Linked DNA regions of Homo sapiens: region 2 is linked to region 1. Evidence: promoter capture Hi-C in human tissues and cell types (Jung and others, 2019). All regions are on one chromosome and are shown on one strand. The core of a region is centred on a gene start or on the middle of the fragment in contact, and the rest is flanking DNA. Distances in the headings are between cores, read along the strand shown.

Region 1 (3,357 bases), core at 560-3,059:
GTTTGACATTTAACAGATGTCATCTGTTCTCTGCAGAGTCACTCAGCAGCCTCCCCTGTTGCAGACACCTCCTTAGGTTTGGAACACACTGTCTATACAGGGCCTAAGTGCAGGATTTTGGTGTGTTCCTTATTTCATTTATTTTTGTTTAACTTGTGGCAGATAAATACAGGTTATCAAAAGAATGGGACAATGAGTAAGCACACACCAAACTAAACAAAACAAAACAAATAGAAACATCACAAGTCTTGAATTTTTTTTTTTTTTTTTTTTTTTTTTTTTTTTTTTTTGGTCAAAGAAAGAACTCATTGGTTGATTTAAGTCGGTGGTAAATCAGAAAGTTGAAAATAAATCACCCTCCTTCTCCAGGGTTCTTCCGGATAGTTCAACTCTAAATTCAGCTGAGAGTATTTCTGATGCTCAAAGAAAAGTGTCTTAAACTCTGATGTTTTAATGTAGTTAAAAAAAACACAAAAAATCTTTGCTGAGGCCCAAGCTGAGGTCAAAAACTACCTCTAGCCATCTGGTGCTTTATTTTTATTGATTAGAAGTCTCTGATAAGACTGATTTGAATGTGATTTAGGAATATCACATTCTAAATGGTCAGTTTGCCTATTCCATTATAGAAATGACACTACGGGAAAATTCATCATCACAGACCACAGCAGAAGTGTTCTTTAGTTAAAGCTCTACCTAGTCATCCAGAAAGCCAGTAAGTAAACCAAATAAAAATAGTTCACTGGGCTCAGAGTGGCAAGTTTTGCATGCAAAGATCGTGAAAATTGTAACCCTAACAATAAATCCAATACTGTTCTCGACTCTCTTGTGTGTCCAGTGCTGCTGCAGTCCTTGGAAGGCTTTTAAACTGTTCAGAGCTTGCTGGTTATCTTCAGCCAAGCCAGAGAGTGGGAGTGCAGTGCATTTTAGTGTAACCATGCGGAACTGGTCGCTCCTTGATTTTGTGCCGTATGTTTCCATTTGTGTAGGCTTTTTCCCCCCTCAGTATTTTGTTGCTTATCCTTTAGAGCGAAATTGGTTTTTCCTCGGCCAATAATCTGTTTCTTTAAAAAAAGAAAAATTCGTTACCTATTGCCTTTTTTTCTGGTCTTCCTGAGCAAGCCAGAAGTCACAAGGTCGTTTACTAAACGGAAACTAAGAAAAAGAAAAGCCACATCAGCCGGCACAAGCCTCTCTAACTTGTGTGCCCTGAGGCTCATCAGATGCGAAGTCCTGGCGACAAGATAGGGTCGCCCGCAGTGGCTTCCTAAAGCGCAGATCCAGGCCGGCTCCCAGCGTGGAATCCGACCCATGTACTTCGCCTCTCCACGTGGCATCAGATGCTCTGCCGGCTGTCACCGTGAACTCCAGCCCTCGCGGAGCCGACACTGACCTGGCTACTTCAGAGTTCGGAGGGAAATAGCGTCTCCGTACCCTCGCCCCACCTGGGCTGCTCCTCGGACCGCCGCTCGTCCCAGACTCCAGGAGGCGCCACCAGGCCTCGCTGACCCCGCTCCATATCTCCGGGAGCCCTCAGCTGGTCGGCCGCGGCGACCGGAAGCTCCGGACTGAGGTACTGGTTCCGCCCGCCGCTCTTCCAGCCGAGACTCGGCAGCGGCGGTCGGAGCGGCTGCCACGCCGCACCTGCCCGCGAGGGGGCGCGCCAGGCCCAGGCCGCAGCCGACTGCCGCGCTCTCTGTCCCCGCCCTCCGCCATCCCCGGACTGCGCTCACCTGTCTGGGCCGCTGGCCTGGGAGGCGGGGGCCGGCGGGAGCCAAGCCGAGGAAAGGGCGGAGCGGCTCTCCGGGCGCGTCATCGGAGCACCATGGCGGAGCTAGGAGCTGGCGGCGACGGCCACAGGGGCGGCGACGGCGCAGTGCGAAGCGAAACAGGTGACCGCACAGCGGGGATAGTGGGGGTCCCGTCGGGCAGGGGACGGCGAGCGGGGCCGGCGGGCTGGCACCGAAATCACCCGGCGCCGGCAGCCCCCTCCCCGCCCGCGCGGCCGCGGCCCGGAACAACCGGCCCTGCGCGCCGCGCACCCTGCTCCGAGAGCGCCTTCCCCCGCCCTTCGCCGCCGCGGCTCGGCCAGCCCGGCTCGGCCCCGGCCGGGGTTGCGGCCGCCCTCGGGCGCTCCACCGCGACTTTCCCGCAACAGGTGGAGGCGAGCCGGGGGAGGAAACGGAGAGACCCCGGCCGCTGCCCTCCCCGCCGCGGCCTCGGGTCTAATTCAGTTGAATGGGAAATCGTATCCCCCAGACCAAACCAGTGGCCAGAGAGTCGTCGGCCAGGTGCGACTGGCAGGACGAGCAGTTTCTGGGCACCTCCTCCCGCCTTCCCTGGTCGCCCCGGGTGCCGGGGGCTCCTCAGCGGGGTCGGTGTGGGGCAGGACCGCGGGGTGAGCGGCCCGCCCCCCAATCTGGTGCCCGCAGTGGCGACGACCGTCGTCCGAGGGGACCGAGCTCGGGAGGGCCGGGGCCCAGTGCAGCACGGTGGGGGTTTGCGAGTGCGGGCTTGACGGGATCAGACTTTCGTTGACTTGTCGGAGTTCTCAGAGTTTTTTGTTTTTAGTCTGTGCAGGAGCCCAAAGGAGGATTGTTGGCTCTGCAGCCCGGGATTTGGTGGTCAGGCCTCTGTGTTGAGGATACCCCTCCCCCACAACCTCCAGGGGCACACTTAGGGACAGGGGATCACGTCCCCAAGACCAGCAGCAAGGCTTCCCAAGACCAGCAGCAAGGCTTCCCAACCCCGCCCATCTCTCCATAGTATGAAGCCGATTTTTCTCCCTCGTGATTTTTTTTTCTCCAGAGGCTATCTTGCAAATCCGTCCCTCTCCACTGGTTCCCTCTTCTATTCTTGGCCAGTAAGCTGTTTCTATATCTTCCTACACTTGGGGATGGGGGCAGTGAGGCAGTTTCTTACTTTAAAAAGAAATTCAATTCTTAGACTCTCCAATTGCAAGCTGTTTTCCACTTCCATACGGTCACAATCGGAAGCATTTGTTTCCTAAATGTAAGAATCACTGTCTCCCCACCATCAAGTATGCTTATTTTAACGTGAAAGGTCCAGAGAGCTCTGAAACAGTATTTGCAAATTATGTATCTGCTATTGCTAGGAAGAGGTTGGGTACGTAAAGTCTAATGATTTAATCCCTTCAGCCAAGATACCTGAGGTTAAGACTGACAAAGTATCTTGAACTTGTTTAAGTCATGCTCCTTCCTGTAGGGAGTTTGTCTTAATGTGTTCGCAAGATTGGTAGATCATTATTTTGTTTTGGGGTGGAGAAGAGATGCCTTTGTAATTGCTTTCGGGAATTTGATGAGCTAGACGCTGGGACGGGGCTCCCCCAAGTGAGGGCCC
Region 2 (3,357 bases), core at 596-3,095, 150 kb after region 1:
TCCTCATCCATTAGGGTGGGGCTAAGTAGGACAGCCCCAGGTGAAGAGAATGGCTACATTCTTTGAGGAGTGAAAGTACTTAGGGTTAAGGCTGTAACAGAAAGATTCCAAGGACAACCATTGCCCTGTTTAGCAAAACTCCATTATTTTAGTGAAGGCTAACATTCCTTTAGGCCTAGCCCTGAGATAGTAAGTCCTTTCTTTTTCTTTTTCTTTCTTTTTTTTTTTTTTTTTTTTTTTTTTTTTTTTTTTTGAGACAGAGTCTTGCTCTTTCGCCCAGGCCGGAGTGCAGTGGCGCTATCTCGGCTCACTGCAAGCTCCGCCTCCCAGGTTCACGCCATTCTCCTGCCTCAGCCTCCCGAGTAGCTGGGACTACAGGCGCCCGCCACCGCACCCGGCTAATTTTTTGTATTTTTAGTAGAGACGGGGTTTCACCGTGTTAGCCAGGATGGTCTCGATCTCCTGACCTCGTGATCCGCCGGCCTCGGCCTCCCAAAGTGCTGGGATTACAGGCGTGAGCCACCGTGCCCGGCAGTAAGTCCTTTCTTATTTGAAAAATCATTCAGCCTACATATAAGAAAAGCTCTTGATCTCCACCTATGTAACTACTATTCTAGCACCTCAACCCCATTAGCCCACCACTGTGTGCAGTGACAGGGTGAAATGGGAAGGACCCTCTGTGCAGGAGCACCGTGTTGTGGGGATCCTCCAAGGTCACACTTCTTATCAGGCAGCTCTCCACTGAATGCTTTTAATGACAAGTTGAGAAGGCTTTGAGTTGTCACCAAAGCCCAGTGTGAATCACTATGCTTGGAGATCACTCTGTCCTTTAACTCTTTAGTTCATTTATTCAAGCATATTTTAACCATCTGCTAGACTAGACATTGTGTGTATAGGGAAGAATTCACAAACACATAAAAGCAGAGTAGCTACCGTCTGGAGTGTAAGTGCTATGAGGGAGTCTGAATCCAGCTAGCAGATGGGGCTCCTGTGCTGTGGTCATCAGGAAAGGCTCCTCAGAGGAAGGAGCTTCTGAGCTAGGACTTGAAAGACAGAAGTTTGCCAGGGGGAAGGAGGTGTGTGTGAAGATGCATGATCCTATGGCCAGTCCAAGGGGTTGGACAGGGAACAGTAGGAGAACTAACAGGTTTTCAAGCACGACAATGACTTCAGGTCTGTTTCTTGAGGAAGATATCTCTGAGACGACTAATGTGTAGGATGGATTTGAAGTGGTTAAAGACTAGAAATGAGGCATGAGAAAGGAATGAGAGTTTAAAGTAGTGGTAAAAAGATTGGAGAGGCTACAGCAGATTCAAGCGATCATTCTGTGTTTTTCTGTTTTTTTACATTAGAGACAGGGTTTCTTTTTTTTTTTTTAATTATACTTTAAGTTCTTGGGTACATGTGCACAACGTTCAAGTTTGTTACATATGTATACATGTGCCACGTTGGTGTGCTGCACCCATTAACTCATCATTTACATTAGGTATATCTCCTAATGCTATCCCTCTCCCCTCCTCCCACCCCACGACAGGCCCAGGTGTGTGATGTTCCCTATCCTGTGTCCAAGTGTTCTCATTGTTCAGTTCCCACCTATGAGTGAGAACATGCGGTGTTTGGTTTTCTGTCCTTGCGATAGTTTGCTCAGAATGATGGTTTCCAGCTTTATCCATGTCCCTACAAAGGACAAGAACTCATCCTTTTTTATGGCTGCATAGTATTCCATAGTGTATATGTGCCACATTTTCTTAATCGAGTCTATCATTGATGGACATTTGGGTTGGTTCCAAGTCTTTGCTATTGTGAATAGTGCCTCAATAAACATGTCACCCAGGATGGAGTGCAGTGGTGCAATCATAGCTCACTGCATCCTCAAACTCTTGGGCTGAAGGGACCCTTCTGCCTCAGCCTCCCAAGTACCTGGGACTACAGGCATGTGCCAACAAGTCCAGATAATTTTTCTTTCTTTTTTGTGGAGATGGGGGTCTTGCTATGTTGCCCATGCTAGTCTCAAACTCCTGAGCTCAAGCAGTCTTCCCACCTTGGCCTCCCAAAGTGTTAGGATTACAGGTGTGAGCCACTGCACCCAGCTGAGAGATCATTCTGATACAACAATTGATGGGACCAATTATATGGATGTGTTGAGTTAGGGTGCACCATGCATGAGGGAAACATTGTGGAAGACTTGAAGTGACTAACTTTATAGACCATTTGGTCTCAGGAATCTGCTATCAGAATACGGAAGACAAAGAAAGTTCCAGTTTGGAGCAGGGAAGAATGTGCAGATAATGAATAAGATTATATGATGGATCTGACTGAGAAATTCAGGTGGAAATTAGAAGCATGCAGAAGTGAATATAGAGGCAATATTGTAGAGTGACTGAGTACAAGCTTTCGAGTCAGAGCTGAATGAAAATCCCAGCTGTTTTCTTTTAGACCATGTGCTGATCTTGGAAGCATCATTTCACTTCTTTGGGTCTTTTTCCTCATTTGATCTTCAGTTCTATTTTTTCTGGTAGCAATAGTCCCACAGTTATTACATTTTTGTTTTCATTTGCCTGATAGCCATTTGCTCATTATTTTAGTGTTATTTGACGCTTTGTTTTAGTTTTGTTTCTTTTAAACAACATAGCTAGGTGTTTTTGTTTTTAACCCATTCTAAAAGTCTTAATAGGCTTGATTTTAGTCCATCTGGCTTTTTTTAAAAAATGTTGTTTCCCCCAACTCTTTTTTTTTTTTTTTTGAGACAGAGTCTCGCCCTGTTGCCCAGGCTGGAGTGCAGTAGCGCAATCTTGGCTCACTGCAACCTCCGCCTCCCAGGTTCAAGTGATTCTCCTGCCTCAGCCTCCCTAGTAGTTGGGACTACAGGCGCCCACCACCACGCCTGGCTAATTTTTTGTATTTTCAGTAGAGACAGGGTTTCACTGTGTTAGCCAGGATGGTCTCGATCTCCTGACCTCGTGATCTGCCCGCCTCAGCCTCCCAAAGTGCTGGGATTACAGGCGTGAGCCACCACACCCAGCCTATTTTCCCCTTTTTTTAAAAAAGAAAAAAAAACTTTTTTGTAGGAGGGGCAGGGCTGGTGGTGTAGAGGTAGGGGTTGGTTTGATGTAAGTACCATTCATTCCATGGTTATCTTTAATAATTTGAAAGGTGTGCTAAACTTTTCCATTCTATTAATGATTACATTTTCATTCCTGTTTCTTGACTATTAAATGAAACTAATTAGTATTTCCCACACAAATGCTCTAAGACCTACAAAATATTTTTACTTTTCCATCTTTAGATGTTCTTATTATTTTATTCTACAACTCCCTTCTAAAATTGATGAGCATAGGTTAAGCCATTAGATTCCTT

What was found. Contacts are between HindIII fragments. The study calls those that stand out against the background at their distance.
Region 2: a contact is called between a fragment that was not itself captured here and the fragment with the promoter of MAP7 in region 1, in 1 of the 25 tissues and cell types used here (hippocampus).

What each region holds. Positions count from the first base shown.
Region 1 is chr6:136,548,874-136,552,230 of GRCh38, reverse strand. MAP7 (microtubule associated protein 7) reads left to right here and starts at 1,809. Exons shown (of 18, transcript NM_003980.6): 1 at 1,809-1,889. The coding sequence starts at 1,823. It overlaps MAP7-AS1 (MAP7 antisense RNA 1), which reads left to right. Exons shown (of 1, transcript NR_186370.1): 1 at 1-1,508. RefSeq lists silencers at 1,508-1,857, 1,898-2,077, 2,088-2,137 and enhancers at 1,359-1,896, 2,435-2,973. The HindIII fragment of the contact is 8,644 bases long and covers 1-3,357 here.
Region 2 is chr6:136,399,802-136,403,158 of GRCh38, reverse strand. The region is part of intron 3 of MAP7 (microtubule associated protein 7); the gene reads left to right. Among named protein-coding and RNA genes, the nearest start is that of BCLAF1, 110 kb to the right of the region's middle. The HindIII fragment of the contact is 5,402 bases long and covers 1-3,357 here.